7 separate regions of the Homo sapiens genome follow, and regions 1, 2, 3, 4, 6 and 7 are each linked to region 5. Evidence: promoter capture Hi-C in 16 types of primary human blood cells and fetal thymus (Javierre and others, 2016). All regions are on one chromosome and are shown on one strand. Each heading gives the region's core, a stretch centred on a gene start or on the middle of the fragment in contact. The rest is flanking DNA. Distances are from core to core; before and after follow the strand shown. Region 1 overlaps SKAP2 (src kinase associated phosphoprotein 2). Region 2 overlaps SKAP2 (src kinase associated phosphoprotein 2). Region 3 overlaps SKAP2 (src kinase associated phosphoprotein 2). Region 4 overlaps SKAP2 (src kinase associated phosphoprotein 2). Region 5 holds the start of HOXA1 (homeobox A1). Region 6 overlaps SKAP2 (src kinase associated phosphoprotein 2). Region 7 overlaps SKAP2 (src kinase associated phosphoprotein 2).

Evidence for each region. The method cuts DNA at HindIII sites, captures the fragments that hold promoters and counts their contacts. A CHiCAGO score of 5 or more calls a contact.
Region 1: a fragment that was not itself captured here is called in contact with the fragment with the promoter of HOXA1 in region 5 in 1 of 17 cell types (neutrophils); the score reaches 5.4 in neutrophils.
Region 2: a contact is called between a fragment that was not itself captured here and the fragment with the promoter of HOXA1 in region 5, in 2 of 17 cell types (endothelial precursors and megakaryocytes). The highest score is 10.5, in endothelial precursors.
Region 3: a contact is called between a fragment that was not itself captured here and the fragment with the promoter of HOXA1 in region 5, in 1 of 17 cell types (neutrophils). The highest score is 6.1, in neutrophils.
Region 4: a fragment that was not itself captured here is called in contact with the fragment with the promoter of HOXA1 in region 5 in 1 of 17 cell types (neutrophils); the score reaches 6.9 in neutrophils.
Region 6: a fragment that was not itself captured here is called in contact with the fragment with the promoter of HOXA1 in region 5 in 1 of 17 cell types (neutrophils); the score reaches 5.6 in neutrophils.
Region 7: a fragment that was not itself captured here is called in contact with the fragment with the promoter of HOXA1 in region 5 in 8 of 17 cell types (endothelial precursors, M2 macrophages, neutrophils and 5 more); the score reaches 10.0 in endothelial precursors.

What each region holds. Positions count from the first base shown.
Region 1 is chr7:26,738,472-26,741,378 of GRCh38, reverse strand. It overlaps SKAP2 (src kinase associated phosphoprotein 2), which reads left to right. Exons shown (of 13, transcript NM_003930.5): 5 at 1,415-1,492; 6 at 2,501-2,584. Among named protein-coding and RNA genes, the nearest start is that of LINC02860, 100 kb to the right of the region's middle. The HindIII fragment of the contact is 4,131 bases long and covers 1-2,907 here.
Region 2 is chr7:26,697,945-26,700,644 of GRCh38, reverse strand. The region is part of intron 9 of SKAP2 (src kinase associated phosphoprotein 2); the gene reads left to right. Among named protein-coding and RNA genes, the nearest start is that of LINC02860, 61 kb to the right of the region's middle. The HindIII fragment of the contact is 905 bases long and covers 958-1,862 here.
Region 3 is chr7:26,837,539-26,840,238 of GRCh38, reverse strand. All of the region lies in intron 4 of SKAP2 (src kinase associated phosphoprotein 2), which reads left to right. The region is part of intron 2 of LOC124901606 (a long non-coding RNA gene); the gene reads right to left. Among named protein-coding and RNA genes, the nearest start is that of SKAP2, 26 kb to the left of the region's middle. The HindIII fragment of the contact is 2,972 bases long and covers 1-2,700 here.
Region 4 is chr7:26,720,353-26,723,052 of GRCh38, reverse strand. The region is part of intron 9 of SKAP2 (src kinase associated phosphoprotein 2); the gene reads left to right. Among named protein-coding and RNA genes, the nearest start is that of LINC02860, 84 kb to the right of the region's middle. The HindIII fragment of the contact is 2,767 bases long and covers 1-2,694 here.
Region 5 is chr7:27,094,585-27,097,284 of GRCh38, reverse strand. HOXA1 (homeobox A1) reads left to right here and starts at 1,285. Exons shown (of 2, transcript NM_005522.5): 1 at 1,285-2,024; 2 at 2,490-2,700. The coding sequence starts at 1,373. It overlaps HOTAIRM1 (HOXA transcript antisense RNA, myeloid-specific 1), which reads right to left and starts at 1,191. Exons shown (of 2, transcript NR_038367.1): 1 at 897-1,191. RefSeq lists enhancers at 323-895, 1,021-1,315, 2,197-2,697, 2,698-2,700 and a silencer at 799-968. The HindIII fragment of the contact is 6,567 bases long and covers 1-2,700 here.
Region 6 is chr7:26,820,403-26,823,102 of GRCh38, reverse strand. All of the region lies in intron 4 of SKAP2 (src kinase associated phosphoprotein 2), which reads left to right. The region is part of intron 2 of LOC124901606 (a long non-coding RNA gene); the gene reads right to left. Among named protein-coding and RNA genes, the nearest start is that of SKAP2, 43 kb to the left of the region's middle. The HindIII fragment of the contact is 2,662 bases long and covers 116-2,700 here.
Region 7 is chr7:26,676,785-26,679,644 of GRCh38, reverse strand. The region is part of intron 11 of SKAP2 (src kinase associated phosphoprotein 2); the gene reads left to right. Among named protein-coding and RNA genes, the nearest start is that of LINC02860, 40 kb to the right of the region's middle. The HindIII fragment of the contact is 4,779 bases long and covers 1-2,860 here.

The DNA of each region.
Region 1 (2,907 bases), core at 305-2,804, 360 kb after region 5:
CACCCAGTTATTTTTAAATTTTTCGTAGAGATGGGGGTCTCACTGTGTTACCCAAGCTGGTGTCAAACTCCTGGGCTCAAGCGACCCTCCTTCCTTAGCCTCCCAAAGTGCTGGGATTGTAGGCATGAGCCATTGCACCCGGCCACTTAGTTATTTTTAAATGTACAATAAATTATTGTTGACTATAGTCACTCTGTTGTGCTATCAAATACTAGATCTTATTCATTCTAATTACATGTTTGTACTCAAACACATTTTCTATCCTAAGTTGTACTGAAACTATTTCCACTGGATGTATTCCATACAAACTTTCTTTTGATTGGTTGTTTTCACTTGCTAGAGTTCTAGTAAAATGCTGAGGATAACTATTATATTTCTTTTCTTTTCTGTTTTCGTTTTTTTCTCTTTTTTTTCCCAGGCTGGATTGCAATGGCGTGATCTTGGCTCACTGCAACCTCTGCCTCCTGGGTTCGAGTGATTCTCCTGCGTCAGCTCCCAAGTAGCTGGGATTACAGGCACCCGCCACCATGCCTGGCTAATTTCTTTTGTAGTTTTAGTAGAGACCAGGTTTCACTGTGTTGGCCAGGCTGGTCTCGAACTCCTGTCCTCAAGTGATCCACCCGCCTCGGCCTCCAAAAGTGCTGGGATTACAAGCGTGAGCCACTGCGCCCGGCAGATAACTATTATATTTCTAATGAAGTTTATAAAAATATTGAACACTTGTAAAATTGAGTAACCTATAATCCATGACCGTGAATATACAATTTCTAATCAACTTAACTTTTGCTTGATTTAAAAACTTTTTTTAGGGATCCAGTATTTGTTTATAATAGTTTTATCAGATCTGTCTAGTTTTAGACTCTTAAATGCCCTATAAAAACCTAAAGCATACTCACTCAGTGGAATGTCCATAACATTTCTCTGAATACAAACACAGAGAATATTTGCTGTGGGCTCAGAGAAACAAGTTTCAGCATTTGATTCGGAAAAGCATTTTATGTTTTACTTGGTAGGAATAGGGATTATGCAGGAAAGAGTCAATATGTATTGAAATTTTTAAAGAGTTAATTCAATATAAATATAACGAAGCTATGATTTATTTGAAATTCTTAACCTCTCTTTCAGGGATTTATTGCATTTATTTATAATAGTTTCTCAGTCCTGTATTTTGGGAGGCTATAATAACATATAGGAGTACAGAACTTTTTTTTTTTTTTTTTTTTTTTTACTTTTGAGACTTTTAGGAGGAATAGAGGGGATTAATCTAGGGAATGGATCTGAAACAAAGCTAATAGACTTAGATTTAAACAATTTCAGTAATTAAAAGCACACTGAATCTAATGAGATCTGGCACTTGTTTATTCTGAAATGGATTACCCACTGCTTTTTTTTTTCTCTCCCCAACTTCTCATAGGAGCCCAGTTTCCTCCAATTGCAGCACAAGACCTTCCTTTTGTTCTAAAGGCTGGCTACCTTGAAAAACGCAGAAAAGGTAAACTGAAGGTTCTAATGAAAAATGTAAAAATAATTTCATCCTTAGATAGAACATGTTTGTAGTATACATGTGGAGGCAGTATTCGTTTTAGGTGATTAAAGAGTTTAAAGATTGTAAGAAAATCTGGATGACATTATCCAAACCACAAAATATAGCTCTTAGCTTTAAATAATTTTTAATAAGAAAACATTAGGTTAGGTTTTTAGTTGTCAACCTTGGTTATTTGTAAATGATTCAGGAGCTGTTTCCTGCCTCTCAAAGGAAAGCTGCAGGCCATGACTGTATTCTCAAAGGTGGGATTTCTCACCAGTATCTCAATGGGCTGAGCAGCAGGTTCTCCTATGCCCAAACTGGCATGCACCATGGTTCAGATCAAGCCTGGAGTTTTGTCTGCCATTGTCTATTATTCATTTCAGTGTTCCTCTCCATTGGCTATGATAATTGGGAGTTGACCATATGGTCTCACTCTTTCAACACCAATATTTAATGGAAATGAAATATGGAGGTGGTTTTATAATATGAGAAATGAAAAGCAGACAGTCTTTTCATTACCATTCTGCTTATCTCTCTTGTAGTCCCTTTAGGCCTTTCTATTTATATTTCATTTTGCTTTTCTTAGCTTTCTTAGCTGAATTTTAAAACTGAAAGAGATAACAGAAATAATCTAGGTTAGCTCCTCCCCTTCTTTTTATAACAGATGAGAAAATGAGACCCAGATGGATCAATTATCTCAAGACTGTATAGTCAGATACCTTTTTGACTGTCCCTGTCAGAAAACTTTGTTAGCCATGCTGTTGATCCCATAAGTATGGCAGCCCCATAGCTACTTTACTTTATTCCCTTTAGCTGTGTTGGTTTGTTGTTGTTTGGTTTTTTGTCTCTTGGAAAAGAAGATACAAATTAGTCACACAATGTTAGAGCTCAGAGGAATCTTAGAAATCATATTAATTAACTTTTTCTTTTACAGTAAGGAAATGGCCTTACATTTTCCCCTCTTTATTGCAGATCACAGCTTTCTGGGATTTGAATGGCAGAAACGGTGGTGTGCTCTCAGTAAAACGGTATTCTATTATTATGGAAGTGATAAAGGTAATGTTGGTGTTCAATTATATCAACTACTATTGCAAAAGAATTTTTGGCCATCCCTTCCCCCTCTTTTGAGTACAGAGTAAACTGAAGACAAACTAATAATAACTGAGAATTATAACAATTATAATCTGACTAATTTATGATTCATTTCATTATTTGACAAATGCTCCAAATACCAGAATACCCTCAGAGCTAAAACAATTGTGTTGTATTGAATTAGAAAAGAGAGTAAAATAACTTTAATCTGTGTGGCCTTTCACCTTAGGGAATATTTATTATCCAGCCTACTGTTGTAGAATTTCTGGAAAAGTTAAGAACATAGG
Region 2 (2,700 bases), core at 161-2,660, 400 kb after region 5:
TGCCAAATTGAGGCATAGGGGCTTGTCTTTGTATTCCTGCATTAGCTATTCATTGGCTCCAAGCCATTCTCTGGGAGGCCCTATAACCTTGAGTGAAGCAATTCCCTGCAGTTGAGGGCAATTTCTAGTGAGAGACGCAGTTATGAACCAACTGCAGCTTGAGTCCCAGCAGTTGGGGATGGCTGTGTTGGTTCTGAAAAGCGTATCTGGTATCCCTTTTCAGATGAATTCTGAAAATTCTAGATAGTTAATGGGCTATAAAGAGGACTCCAGAAACTGCTAACATAGAGTATCAAAGAGAGTCTTTTATGTTAACTAGAAGATGAAACACTAATTACTGGAACCCAGTATGAGTTCCAGGAATTGGTGGACATATAACTGGACTTCAGTAAGACATGTGGTCAGGATTCTCATGAAATCTTTATAGATATAGAGACCACCAGATAACTGACTCTACAGCTGTGTCCAAAGAGTGCTAATTAATTGATTTTATGAATACCTTAGGGCTTTATTTTCAATATTATCATATCCAACCTATTCATCATTGTTTTGGATACAGGCTTGCTCTCAATAGAACAAAATCATGGGTCAAATCCAACAAGATGAAATATGATAGAATATTCCACTTGCTCCAAAAATCTAGTTGCACAAGTACAAGAAAGGAAAGACTTGGCTTCACAGAAAATGGGAAAAACACATACGGACTTTGGTCAATAGCTCAATATGAGTCAACAGTTTAATGTGATTCAATCCTGAGATTGTGTGCTTTGGGAACATAAAATAATTATCAAATAGTGTTCTAGGTTAGCAGGATATCATTTTTTTTCATGTGGTGGATGAACAATGTTTAGATATTTAACTAAAACTACCCTAGAAAGTACAGGGTAGCCATTCTTAAACTTATTGATCTCAGGATCCCTTTACAATCTTAAAAATTATCAAGGACCCTTAAAAGCTTTTGTTTATGTTTTGAATTTTTTTCTAGAAAGTAAAGTATTTCATCTCAATGTAGATTTTTTTGGTTTGTTTTAAATTTTATTAGATTAAAAAATACTATCTAATGATAAATAGGTTGGTAAATAGTTAAATCTCAATATTTACCCTATTGGAAATTAAAACAGATCTTTAAAGAATGTTGATTTATTAATGAATTTAAAAGTCATGATGATAAACCTGTTACATCTGTACATAACCTATTTTTAGGAAAAATAACTATATTTCCCCCTAAAATTAGAAGAATATGGCATTGTTTACATTTTTACAGCTTTCTTGAATGTCTGTCTTGGTAGAAGACAATAGAGTTTCATATCTGCTTCTACATTCAGTTTATTGTGATATATTGTTTAAGTACAGTTAACTTATAAAGAAAATCCACCTCATACAGATATGTAGGAAGGAAAAGGGAGGTACTTTACTTGCAGGTAATTGTAGGTATTCTTTTTTGATATTGTACCCAGACGCGACAAGTAGTAGTTAAAAGCTGGTACAATGTGGAATCTGAAACCATACCAATGAACTTTTCATACTCTTTTACATTAAAATTCATAGGCCTGTCTTGCACTTTGTTGAATGGATCTTTTACCCATGCTTGATTTTGTAACATGCTTTGGTCAGTTGGAAAATACTAGTTCATTACATTATGCAGAACCTACAAATATTGACACAACTATGACACAACCTAAGAAAAACCCACATTTTGTTTATATCACCATCCATCTCATTGGAAAAGTCTTTAAATAGTGGGGAGCTGTCAAGCTAACAGTGGCAGATACAAGTTTCTAAAATCCTAATTTTTGCTTGAAAGCTCAAATTTTATCATTGGCAATAAATACCGTCAGTTGTTTCCCTTGAAATGACAAGCTTATTTCATTTACTTTTGAGAAAATGTCTGCCAGATTCCCAAGTCTAAATAACCAGTTTGTCAGTCATTCAAGTAAAAATGGTGTTCCATGAATAAAAAAATGGCTAATTCAGCTCAACACTCAGATTCTTACGCATCTGGTGGTGTAGCAGAAATGCTTTATACATTCTTCTGATTTTGTCACATAGAATATTAAAGTTACGTACTCAAGGTTGATATTAGGTGAAAATAATTATTACTGCTTCATCAAGGACATTCTTTAGTGCAACTGACTTCTTTCATTTTTTTACTTTTATGCCAGTGCAGGGCAGTCTAAGTTGATTTATGCTAAGGTGTCAGCAGTTTTACCCATCATTGCTCTGCAACATCAGTGCAAATGTTAACATAGTGAAAAAGACACATAATGTCTTAGTATTATTATGAAAATAGCTTTGACCCCACAGACCCTCCACCCTGCAAACAGATCTTGGAAAGCACTGCTGGTATAAGGGATGTGGAGCCAGTAAGTCTAATGGTGATGGTTCTTTCTATGAAACTGTGCTTTTTCTTTCTTGGGCTCTTGAAAATGAGGTTAAGATGCACTGCATATGATGAGAAAGGGTATATTTGCATAGGCAAGCAGAGGAAACAGAGCAAAAGCCTATAACAAATGAGCTCTGCATCCATATATCAGCTGTTTTTCCAGAGGTTATAGTAGGCAGTTGTAGACCCTGATAAGACAGCCACATTACAATCAAATAATCATAACATCAGCCTATTTGTCACTAGATAGTATTTTTTAATCTAATAAAATTTAAAGCAAGCCAAAAAAATCTAAATTGAGTTGATGTATTTTACTT
Region 3 (2,700 bases), core at 70-2,569, 260 kb after region 5:
CTGAAACCTCTAGGGTGTGAATACAGGAAGGCTAAAATGAAGCTGAAAATATAGAACAGTCATTTATTGTCCTGGTGTCTTTCTAACTAAAAATTTCTGAATAACCTAGGTTACTGAAAGGCTGTGGGCATTGCGAGACACAGGTTTGTGTGAAGAAATTTTTTTTTAGGAATGGAACTATTTTTTAAATCTCAGGGATTAAGAAAAAGGCTGAACTATTATCATAATTTATAATATTAAAAATTTTTTTTGGTATACTTTTCTTTACAAAAATCCAATGTACAAAAATTTGGATTAATAAAGCATGTAAATCATTTTTTCCAACAGATTTCTTTAGAGAGATTGTCTCCAGGATGCCTATAAATAATTAGCTCTTAGAAAGTGTCTAAAACAGGCTTAGATATAAACCTGTCCGTGTGCACAACATAAATTTAATGTACCAAATTTTTGAGGAAGACTTTTTTTGTGTAAAATTAGGTGTAGCACTAATCAGTTCTTACAAAAGCCACGAAATAGATGTTTTACTTTTCTCTCATATCAGTAGAGTATGAAACAATGTTTAAAACTGGAAAAAAAGGTTTTTTTCAATAACTTAGCATTTAGGATAACTATGAAACAATGTTTAAAACTAGAAAAAAAATTTTTCAATAACTTAGCATTTAGGGTGTTTTTAACCCACTATCATATTTTTGACACCTAAAATTATCTTTTGTATTTTGTTCTAAAAAATTCAATTAATTTGCAATTTGCACATATTTTTGCATATATAACATGTATCAACATTTCACTTTTGTTTTTAAAATTTTTGGGTTGTCTTAATATGCCAAATTGCTAGCTTATATATGTTTTAGCAGTTTAATAACAATGATTATTTTAGTCATTGTGCTATGTGTATAGCACAGTTTCAAGTATTTTGGTGGAAGAGAAGGGATTATAGTTGAGGAAATGACAGAAAGTAGAGGACATATTTTTAATCCTCAAGGTATATATTGTGCAATTGGGGATATAAAGTACACAGATGTAAAATATTTTTGTGATACAAAGGTATATATTAGTAAATAAAACACATAGCCATTGAGAATTATCTTTCTAAGTTTTTATGCTATTGATCAGGAAAATTCATCAGAATAAAACAGAGTGGACGGATGATACTATAACAAAGTGGACTAGATACGAAAGACTGCAAAGGTTAAGTAAAACTCAACATTATGAAAAATAATGCATCTTTAATTCAGCAAATTAGCAGTTATTTACACAGTACATGAAGAGGAGAACAAGATACTTGGACAGGGCAATTGGGGGTGAATAAGATAAAGTTCCTATTTTTAAGAAAAATGTAATCTAGATGGCAGGAGAAGATAATCACCTAGAATAAGGTAACTAGCAATCTAGGTTATATTAAACCAGATTCCAAAAATAATAAATACTACGTGCTACAATATTCAATTGATTTAGTCTATACCAAGGCAAGTAGTTGGTTTCATTGATTTTACTTCCTGATGTATTGGCTGAATCAGCCATATGTTTTAGCATCCTGTCAAAAAAACCACAGCATAAACTTTATGCCTAAATTCTAAGAGATTGTGGAGGGAGGGCCTTTTATTTAAGTGAGTTTTATGTGGGTCTTGAGGTTTGTTGCAGAGAATGGGAAAACAAACTGAAAAGAACTTTTGGAGTTCAAGCTCAGAAACCAGGTTTTCATTATAATTGATGATAACTTTTTTGTCAAGGACAAGTTGCTTAGGCCTTTTTGGATTTTTATTTTCTGGTATGTGAAATGAAGAGTTTGAACCGGGTAATTGCTTAGACGTTCCCTAGAGCACTAAATGCTTGTGTCCCCACATTTCAGAATTAGTAAATTGAATGGTGGCAGTGAGGTGAGGTGATCTGCATGGGGAAGATATGGGTGACGACCAGAGGTGGTATTGAATAGGAAGGAGTGGAGGGGGTCTTGGAGGTAGGTGCATGATTTATAGTAGGAGCTGAATGCCAAATTAAGGAATTTACCTTTGATTTGGTAGTCATTAAGAGATCCCTGAAGGAGTATACTGAAGTGAGGGATGCAGATTTGAGGGATATTGTCCTGGAAGTTAAATGTAGGTTAAATGAAGGCGTAGAGACCATCTAGTGGAGGTAGCAAGCTAAATGCTTTGCTACATTACTTATTTTTAATCATGACAGTATCTCTATGAAGTAGAGTACTATCACTATTTGACAAATGAGGAAACCTAAAATAGAGAGGTTAAGTGATATGCCCAATGGCATATAGCTACATAGTGGCAGAACTGGAATTTGAATTCATGTCTGTCAACTGTAAGGATTATGCTCTGCTCTTAAAAGAGTTACTTTTTCCCTCTTCCCCAGCTAGCATACTGCTCTGCTGCTTTTGATTAAGGGAGTGTTGATAAGACTCTGGGCTAGAGAGGTGGATATTGTACTGAAAAGGAAGTGATTTTCTAGCCCTTTCCTACTCAAAGTATGGTCAGTAGACCAACAGTATCAGCATCATCTGGGAGCTTGTTAGAAACGCTAAATCTGTCTCCACCTAATATAGTTTGGATATTTATCTCCGCCCAAATCACATGTTGAATTGTAATTCCCAGTGCTGGAGGTGGGGCCTGTTGGGGGGTGTTTGGATCATGGGGCAAATCCCTCATGGCCTCGTGCTATCTTCGTGACAGTGAGTTCTTGTGAAATCTG
Region 4 (2,700 bases), core at 62-2,561, 370 kb after region 5:
CATTTACATACTGTTGATATTTTTCCAGTTCTGTGCAAAGAACTATGTATCTCTGATATCTGACTGGCTAAATTCCCAGAATTAAATAATACTACAATTTCAACACAATTTTCTGTCAATTATGCATTGTTGAAAACTAATCCTCTTAGTTGAAAGATGAGGTATACAAATGTATTTGAAGAGAAATCTAAGCATTTATTATGCTACTTTAAATCACAAAGCTCTTTTTCTGAGAAACGAAAGCTCTTACTCTAATAAGTGTATTTTTTAAAAACTATGAAATAAACCTGCAGTGTTTTGAGTTTCAAGAGTAAGAAGAAAACGTGGTTTTAAAAATTGCAATGGGCTGGGCGCAGTGGCTCACGCCTGTAATCCTAGCACTTTGGGAGGCCGAGTTAGGTGGATCACTTGAGGTCAGGAGTTCGAAGCGAGCCTGGCCAACATGGTGAAACCCCGTCTCTACTAAAAATAAAAAAATAAAAATAAATAAAAAATTAGCCGGGCATGGTGGCAGGTGCCTGTAATCCAAGCTATTCAGGAGGCTGAGGCAGGAGAATCACTTGAATCCGGGAGGCGGAGGCTGCAGTGAGCCAAGATTGAGGCACTACACTCCAGCCTGGGCAACAGAGTGAGACTGTGTCTCAAAAAAAAAAAAAAAAAAAAAAAATTGCATTGCATAATATCCCTTGAAAAATGTTTATAATTCTACAGGAATCTAAATTGTTTCATTGTAATTGTTTTTCAGTTAGAATATTCTAACTTCATTACAGTACCTTCTGTTTAATTTCTTGTTCATTTATTTTTAACTAACTTCGTAAAGGAATAGGAATAAATTTGTAAGACTTCTTTGTGTTTAAGGGATTTATACATATGTACAAAAGAGTTGCGAGAATGCCATTTCTGGGGAGTATTAAAGGTATTTGGCTTTTCTTCAAATATCCTAATCCTTTTACATCTTTTATGTCTTATTGCTTATTAGCATAGGCCAGTCAGGTTTGTTTACATTGTAATAATACTATAGCATATTTGTGTTTGTGCAGCTAATATATTGATCAAAATGTGTTAAACTGTTTAACATGGTAATGAGTTCATTTGGCTCAGCACAGGTTTGTAAATTTATTGCTCACTTTTTCATTAGAAATACAGAGGAGTGTCTTTGTCTCATTTTGAATCTCAAAAGGGGAAAATAATACTCGTGAAATTGCTGCAGAAACCAACCCTGTTTGCTCTTCTCTTCTATTCACTATGTCACTTGATTTTTTTTCTTTAATGGCAGGAAATTGTACAGAAACAACAACAACAAAAAGATTTTTCTAGATCTAAACTGAATAGAATCAGCCTAGTAATGAGAATGGTAACCATCCATTAACTTATTAAATCTGTAGCTTTCAGAGGGATTGCACTTGAAATGTCTTCTGGCAAGTGGACTGGAGGAGAGAGGGCAACATAAAACAGGAAGACAAATTTCTATTCCATTAACCTATTTTTTTTAAGTGTGAATTCATTTTTTTTTAAATTACAATGACAGATTGAACTATTCTGAGTCAGAAAAGGATATTTTTATCCTTTGGCCATTCAATTACATTTTAAATGTATTCAGTCCAACTATCTGCATCTAAAATAGAACATAAAGTAAAATGCAGCTATAATTTTTTTCCATGAGACTATTATATATACATAAAAAAGAACAGTGTTTGGGTACTTTAATTTGAAGTAGTTTACAGCAAATGGACACAAATGCTAATTTAGTCAATAAGTGGTTATAGGCCCCCAAAATACATTTTGGCTTTATTTTCCTCCTGAATAATTATCACTCATATTACTAAGTTAATATCAGGGTTACAGGGGACCCTGCAGTCTGTGGTATTAACATTGTTTTAAGTGATAGTAGATCCTGACTTCACCAAACAATTTTTCTCCTTTCTTCTTTGGAATGCAATGGAAAGATGTCAATTAATTTTCATAGAACCACATATATTCAGTATTTTAATATTGTTAGTCTAGGCAGCCTGCTAACATTATTTTTTCTTAAACTAGGTACTGAATGGTGAAGTTATCAATGTGGTGATATTGTGGGAATAGTTTTTCCCAAGTAGATAACTAGATTAGGGTTGAATTTTTGGATGGTGATATGGTTTGGCTGTGTCCCCACCCAAATTTCATCTTGAATTGTAGTACCCATAAAATCCCCATGTGTCCTGGGAGGGACCAGGTGGAGATAATTGAATGATGGGGGCAGTGTCCCCTATCCAGTTCTCGTGATAGTGAGTGAGTTCTCATGAGATCTGATGGTTTTATAAGGGGCTCACCCCTTTGCTGGGCACTCATTCTTCTCGATGCTGCCATGTGAAGAAGGACATGTTTGCTTCCCCTTCCGCCATGATTGTAAGTTTCCTCAGGCCTCCCTAACCATGCTAAACTGTGAGTCAATTAAACCTCTTTCCTTTATAAATTTGCCAGTCTTGGGTATGTCTTTATTAGCAGAGTCAGAACAGACTAATACAGATGGTTTCAGCTCTAAAATCTGCTTAGAGGGTTATCCGAAGTTATAAAAAAAAATGAAATCATTCATAAAATAGGGTCACTACACACATATAATATTTATTATTTTTATCTTTGCTGAATATAAATGTGTCTTTGCTGAATATTTGTTCATAGTATTCTTTATGTTGTTTCATAATATAGTATGAAGCTTTGGAA
Region 5 (2,700 bases), core at 36-2,535:
GCCATTTGTCCACCGCCCCTCCCACCTGCCAGCCCCCACACCCACTCTAGACGTGCAGCAGAATGAGGAAGGTTATAAAAGGAAGCTCTCTCTCTCTTCTAACATTCCCCTCCAGAAAAAGAGGAACGCAACGAAGGGAGTTCAGCTACTATGTTGGAGCTGTGGACCGGCCCTGTGAGGCCCACGCGGGAGCGCGGAGGCTCCTGGGTCTCAGGGCGCCGGCAGATGGCCTGCAGCGCACCGCCCGGCCCCCGCGCTGGCCACGTCCGCCAGCGTCATCTCTCTCCCCCGCCTCCTACCCCTAAAAATCCGGCGGTCGAGTAGCTCCGCATCCCGGAGGGCTCCCGGTGCAAAACTGAGTGGGAAAGAGAAAGGGGCGGAGAGCGACGAGAGAGGGAAGGTGGGGAAGAAGAGCCCGGCCGCCCCCGGCCTTTTCCGGCGAGCTCTGAGTTTCCAGGGCTCATCCGCCCCTCCAAGTCGAATTACAGAAACTCCTCATTGCCATGCTAATGACGAGAGGGGCTGTGGGGAGAGGGTTTCGAAGACCCTCCTGGAAGAAGGGAAGTTTCTTTTCTTGCCCTCGTCTCCTTCACGCCCACCCGAGTTCCTCCCAGCCAGCCCTCTGCGCTCTTCCCCCTCCATTCCGAGCTTGAAGAGCCGGTGGCCCAGCCTCGCCCTCCACCACGGTTCTATGCGCTCCTCACAGCCCCACGGTCTCCCAGCCCAGCCTCAGAACAGAGGAGGTGGCCTGGGAACCCGGGGCGCGGTGTCAGCCGGATTCCCCGCCTTCCGGCTGGGCGCGCTGCGGGCTGGGCCGGCGTACTTGCGGCCACCCGGCGAGCTCTGGCCCACTGATTCCCGCCCCGAGAGAGCCGGGAGCCCTCTTCCCTTCTCACCTCTCGCCAGTTCATCTTTCATTGAACGGTGGGGAGGGGGCGGGAGCGGGGGACGCCTCCCAGCCCCCACCTCCCGGAGGCCTGGCGGGGCGGGCAGCGGAGTCGGGCGCGCGCAGAACGCAGCTTTTGCTCTTCTTCGCTCCAGCACTCCAAATCGGCCTTTGCAGTCGCCGCAGCAGCTGCCGCCGCCTAGGCTGCCTGGGGGGGCGACTGCGCGTCACCTAGACGGCGGAGCGCCGGGGATTTAAATGCCACTAAAACGGTGATCCATCACTGCGGAAGCCGGCAAACTTTTGCAGGAGGCTCAGCCATTGGCTGACACCGTCACGTGCCCCTCCTCCAGCGTCCTCCGCCCTCCCGCCCCCCCTCTTGCGCACTGTACATTCATATCATTTTTCTTCTCCGGCCCCATGGAGGAAGTGAGAAAGTTGGCACAGTCACGCCGGGCTTCGCAGGACCAGGTCACTCAGTGACAGATGGACAATGCAAGAATGAACTCCTTCCTGGAATACCCCATACTTAGCAGTGGCGACTCGGGGACCTGCTCAGCCCGAGCCTACCCCTCGGACCATAGGATTACAACTTTCCAGTCGTGCGCGGTCAGCGCCAACAGTTGCGGCGGCGACGACCGCTTCCTAGTGGGCAGGGGGGTGCAGATCGGTTCGCCCCACCACCACCACCACCACCACCATCGCCACCCCCAGCCGGCTACCTACCAGACTTCCGGGAACCTGGGGGTGTCCTACTCCCACTCAAGTTGTGGTCCAAGCTATGGCTCACAGAACTTCAGTGCGCCTTACAGCCCCTACGCGTTAAATCAGGAAGCAGACGTAAGTGGTGGGTACCCCCAGTGCGCTCCCGCTGTTTACTCTGGAAATCTCTCATCTCCCATGGTCCAGCATCACCACCACCACCAGGGTTATGCTGGGGGCGCGGTGGGCTCGCCTCAATACATTCACCACTCATATGGACAGGAGCACCAGAGCCTGGCCCTGGCTACGTATAATAACTCCTTGTCCCCTCTCCACGCCAGCCACCAAGAAGCCTGTCGCTCCCCCGCATCGGAGACATCTTCTCCAGCGCAGACTTTTGACTGGATGAAAGTCAAAAGAAACCCTCCCAAAACAGGTCAGTCCTGCTGGTTGGTGGATGCTCCTTGATTATTCTGGAAGGAGCTGGTATGCTTAATTTCCAAGGAAATTAATAATGATCTTTTTTTTAAAAGGCTTTTGTATCAGACTAGTGTTGTAGTGCATGGAGAGGGTGCCCAGAGGTGTTGGGGCAAAGAAGTCTCAGGGATTGGTGTGTTTTCAAGGATTTTATACATTTGGGAAATAGGAAGTATGTGGGGGTGGTTATTGTGACGGTAGTGTTCTGTTAATATCTTGAGGCTCCATTAATCACCGGTCTGACCATGCTAATGGTTTACATCAGGTTAACACTTTACACCTCATCACTCACCCTCCACAGCCCGATTTGTGCTGAGTTCTTGATCTTTTCTTTACCTGAGTGTTGCCATGAAGCGTGTGGGGAATCTCAAGTCGATTTAAAAATTTTTACATTTCCGTCTCATGGCTTCCCACTTTGCCCCAGGGAAAGTTGGAGAGTACGGCTACCTGGGTCAACCCAACGCGGTGCGCACCAACTTCACTACCAAGCAGCTCACGGAACTGGAGAAGGAGTTCCACTTCAACAAGTACCTGACGCGCGCCCGCAGGGTGGAGATCGCTGCATCCCTGCAGCTCAACGAGACCCAAGTGAAGATCTGGTTCCAGAACCGCCGAATGAAGCAAAAGAAACGTGA
Region 6 (2,700 bases), core at 197-2,696, 270 kb after region 5:
AGCACTTTTGTTTTCCTTCAAGGACTTTTCATTTGCATTCACAACTTGGCTGTTTGGCACAAGAGGCCTTCCTTTTGGCCTATCTCGACTTTCTACGTGCCTTCCTCCCTAAGCTTAATCATTTCTACCTTTTGTACCTTTTGATTTACAGTGAGAGATGTGGAACTCTTTCTTTCACTTGAACACTTAGAGCCTTTGTTGGGTAATTTTTTTTTTTTTTGAGACGGAGTCTCGCTGTGTCGCCCAGGCTGGAGTGCAGTGGTGCATTCTCGGCTCACTGCAAGCCCCGCCTCCTGGGTTCACGCCATTCTCCTGCCTCAGCCTCCCTAGTAGCTGGGACTGCAGGCGCCCGCCACCACGCCTGGCTAATTTTTTTTTTTTTTGTATTTTTAGTAGAGACGGGGTTTCACCGTGTTAGCCAGGATGGTCTCGATCTCCTGACCTCGTGATCCACCCGCCTTGGCCTCCCAAAGTGCTGGGATTACAGGCTTGAGCCACCACGCCCAGCCCATTGTAGGGTTATTAATTGGCTTAATTTCAGTGTTGTTATGTTTCAGGGAATAAGGAAGCCCAAGGAGAGGCAGAGAGATAGGGGAAGGTTGAGTTGTGGAGCAGTCAGAGGACATACATTTATTATTAAAGTTTGCTGTCTTATATGAGTGCAGATCATAGTGCCCCAAAACAATTAGATGGCAACATCAAAGATCACTGATTATAGATCACCATAACAGATATAATAATAATGAAAAAATTTGAAATATTGTAAGAATTACCAAAATGTGACACAGAGATACAAAGTGAGCATGTGCAATTGAAAAAATGGTGCTGATAGACTTGTTCCACAAGGGTTGTCACAAACCTGCAATTTGTAAAAAATGCAGTATCTGTAAAGTGCATTAAAGCAAAGCACAGTAATATGAGGTATGTTTGTATAAATACAGATGGGTAATTGAAGACCAAATGACATATCTGTTACGTTTACTACTTTGGCTCATCAGTTGTCATACTTAACAGAGGTGATAATGGATGAAGCTATCACCACAGAAATAAAGAATAAAGATTGGATTTGGCAAATAAAATACTTACATTAATAATTATTATTAATTATCTGACAAATGCTAATGTATCAGATTAAGCAGGCAGAGATAAGAGTTGTAAGGAATGGATCAAATGACAAATAAATTTTAGTTTGTTATGGGAGGGAGCTGGAAGTGTAGAAGAAAGGAAGGGCTTGGTATACTTCTGGGGAACTCAGGCCTGGGAAGAACCGGAGTGTAGGATCAACTTGATGGGTGGGACAAAGGGGAGTAAATAGCCAGGGGTAGAACCAATGGTAGACTTCATGATTATGCTTAACGTGAATCTTGATACTTAGATTCTTTTCTCAGGGAGGTGATATTATCTATAAAGAAAGTGGAAAGGCAGATAAGAAAGATCAAGTTTGTTGAGCTTGAAGGAGTATTGAGAATCCAGTCAAAGATATTTAAGAGGGAGTCTGAGATATGGAATAGAGATGTGGCAAATCATTGATTTATTCGCCTAAACATGTTTAATATCATGAGAAAGAGAAGACTTTCCAGAGACAGTAGAATGAGATAGATGAGAAGATTTAGAATAGAGACATTTTCTCCAACTTTCCTCACAGGTAAACCAGGAGAATTGCTGCTTTTGTTTCTAAACCTGTGATTCTATTTTACAGAATTTTAGAAGCCATTAATTACTTTCATTCCTTAGTATGATTATAGTCCTGGTGATACATTTTATCTTGGTCATTTTCTTTGGCGTTCATTTGAATGTTGATGTGATCTTAGGCTTTTTTTCCTCCCTCTTTGTTTTATCTAATTATTTTTCTCCATGTAATTCAGGCATCATGTTATGTTACTATGTCTTGTCCTGGCAACTTATATAATATTAAGCAATATTCAAGGCAGATCAGATGTACTTTTAGTATCTGCATACTAAATTTTCAAGGACTTTAAAAAAGATAAACTCTTATGTTTCATCATGTCATGAGTAAATAGTACTGTTGTCGTCAAATGCACAGATTATTGTATCCTATATACCTGGGTTTAATCCTGGTTTGACACTCTGACTTTGAACAAATTATTTTCTGTTTAAGCCTTAGTTTCTTAATTTGTAAAATTAGGGATAATTAATAGTATTTCAAAAGATTGTAGTAGGGATAGGTACATAGGACATGCCAATGTTAGCTCTTGGTTACTGTAATGTCACAAGATGACCAAGGGATGGAATAATTGACTTGATTTTAGTACATATTTTCTTTGGAATTTTTATCCATGTTTGAACATAAGTAGTTTAATTTGTGTTGGACAATATTTTATTTAATCATATCATATTGTGAGTAGCTAAAAGATAACTGATTATTTTTATGATTTAATATTCAACTTTTTGCTAATAAATATGGCAGGCATTTTTACGTGGTGGTTCATAAATGTCATGACCTGTGTGTTGACCTATGTTAAATTTCTGTGATCTTTTTTATTTGGGTGAATCGTATTTAGCTTCCTGTCTGTTAGATAGTAGGAAAGTAATGAAACAATAGCATATGAGAATTTGATCAAAATGAACCTTAATCCTGAGAAGCATTAACTGGATTATTTTGTTAGAAATATGCCAATGGATTTAAAATGTAGATAATCTTGAAATTTCAAATGATTTCATTCTTTGGTTGGTTGTTTA
Region 7 (2,860 bases), core at 143-2,642, 420 kb after region 5:
TGGCCAACTGCTGCAGAGTAACTAGGATATCTGAATGTGGGACATGCATTGTTGACACTAAGCTAGCTCCAAAATGTTATATTTTATAGCCTTTTGATAAGAAGAAGTGTTTGTATTTGTGCTTGCATTTGTTTGCTCCGATGACATTTAGTTTGTATGCTGTCAGTATGGATGTATGGTCTAGAGTACACTGGAAGCATTAACCAGGCCAACCTCCTATTTAGTACCCATCTCCTCCTAGGAGTGAAAAGCAGTTTATGGACACAACACCATGTCAGAAAATGTTCTAGTTCTACTCATAGGACTCCTCTTGTTATCTGTTTGTGAACAATATGCTTAAGTACTTCCCTACTTTCTCTTACATAAATTGGAGGAAACATTCCAGAAAAATGTTGGCAGATGAAAGCAAAAGGTGCTTATAGGAGGCAGGCTGGCAGCTGCAGCCCTTGCAATGGCCTGACAGGTAGAGGAAAAGCCAGAAGGCAGTGTCAGAGAGGCAAGGTGAGCAGAGGTGGCAGTGGAGGGGGCTGCTTTGGAAAGGAGCCCACCTGTAAGGCCTATGTGATTTACTTCAGCATGAATAACTAAGAGTTTGGCAGCAGCAAAACAAAACCTTAAAGAAAAGCACTACGTTGATATTTTTTTTAATTCTCAGTTGAACAATTCATGATTTCAGCCTTGAAAATGAGGAACTCCCTCAGTGTGTATAGCATACTTTCACTCTTTTGAGATGTCTTCTTCCTCATCCCTTTAGAACATGGAGCTAGATATTCCAGGGAAATCATTAGGCATAGAGACTAGAGATAGACTACTGATTAAGAAAAGTTTTAGAGTCGATATTTAGTAAATTATAGATAAGTGACAGATGTTCATTGAGTATTCAGCTATCAAGGAACAACCAGCATGCCAGGTATTGTGGCTCACTCCTGTAATCCCAGCACTTTGGGAGGCCGAGGCAGGAGGATCACTTGAAGTCAGGAGTTCGAGACCAACCTGGCCAACATGGTGAAACCCCGTCTCTACTAAAAATAGAAAAATTACCTGGGCGTGGTGGTGCGCACCTGTAGTCCCAGCTACTTGGGAAGCTGAGGCAGGAGAATCACTTGAACCCGGGAAGTAGAGGTTGCAGTGAGCTGAGATTGTACCACTGCACTCCAGCCTGGTGACAGAGCATGACTCCATCTCAAAAAAAAAAAAAAAAAGAACAACCAGTTAAAATTGTAATAAAATGTTATATTCCTCAAATACTTGTTCTCTTTGGGAGAAGATAAGATTCTCTTTGGAAGAGCAGGGTGGAGACCTGCTCATAATAATCAGATTGCCTTATAGTGCGTCCCAAAGTACTCTGTTTTTTTGTTGTTGCCATAATACTTTGCTATACCAATTAGTGGGCAGGGAGTGGGGGAGGGAATGAAAAAGTGTTTATTGAGCATTTACAATGTCCTGTTCTAGGTACTTAATATGCTTTCACACATATAATTAATATAATAACCCTGTGAAGTAGATGATGTTATAATTTTACAGATTAGGAAACTGATGTGCAGTAAGGTTATTATGGAAATTATCTGAGGATACGCAGCTATTAAGTGCCTTCTCCAGGTATCAATACAGGTCTGACCCTAAAGCCTTTTCTCTTTCTACTTTGCTACGGTTAAGTGGGACTTGATTAGGACTTTAACTTTTCTTCTATATCAGAGGTTAATTGTAATTATCACATCCCAGTTCTAAACAACAGCGAACCATGTTATTGACAGTATCTTTTACATAATTAAATCTTGTATAGATGGTCAAAATTATTTCATTTTCTAATCAACAAATATTTGGTGAACACTCATGCAAAGTACTATTTTGAGCAGGATCCAGAAAAGCCACAAACTGTTATTCAAGGAGACTGCAATTAAGTCGAAGAGAAGACCAATGCATAAAATAGATAATAGCAATAAAACACAATGTAGGGTATCAGTGTTGTAGTCCTGGAGAATCCCAGAAGAAAGGGAAGTCAGTAAATACTGGAGTAAGTAAGTAATGAAAGATTCATAGGAAATGGAACTTGAACTGGAACTTTATGTATAAATGGAGTTTATTCATTTAACAAATATGAATGCTTATTTTCTGTGTCTATTACATATAAAACCTAGAAGAACGGCTGTGCTATGGAAAGGGGTGGATGGCTATATTGATGAAAGGGGAGCATAGAGCCAATAGACATCAGTCATTCAGGATCACTTCTTTTTTTTTTTTTTTTTTTTTATTGAGACAGAGTCTTGCTCTGTCACCCAGGCTGGGGTGCAGTGATGCAATTTCAGCTCACTGCAACCTCTGCCTCCCGGGTTCAAGCATTTCTCCTGCCTCAGCCTCCCAAGTAGCTGGGATTACAGGCTCCTGCCACCATGCCCGGCTAATTTTTTGTATTTTTAGTAGACATAGGGTTTCACCATGTTGGCCAGGCTGGTCTTGAACTCCTGACTTCAGGTGATCCTCCCGCCTCGGCCTCCCAAAGTGCTGGGATTACAGGCATGAGCCATCACTTCTCTTTCCTTACCTTGGAGAATGGTAGGCAGCCAGAGAAACCCTGTGAGAAACCAAATCAACCTGATGTTTCCAAGCTAGTTTTTCTACAGCAGCTTACACCACTTTTCCCTTATCTTCGCCTGTACCTTGTGTGTTAACCACACTCTCAACTACTTACTCTTCACTGAACACAGCACATTCTTTTATCTCTGCAGGCCTTCACGCCTGCCATGTATTGCTCCTTTCATTATTCCTTCTGGAGTCTCAGCCCAGCTGTCACTTTCTATGTAAAGTCTCTCAGATCCTGCTGTAGGATTAGTTGCTTCTCTTTTTACAAACTTTTTCCCTC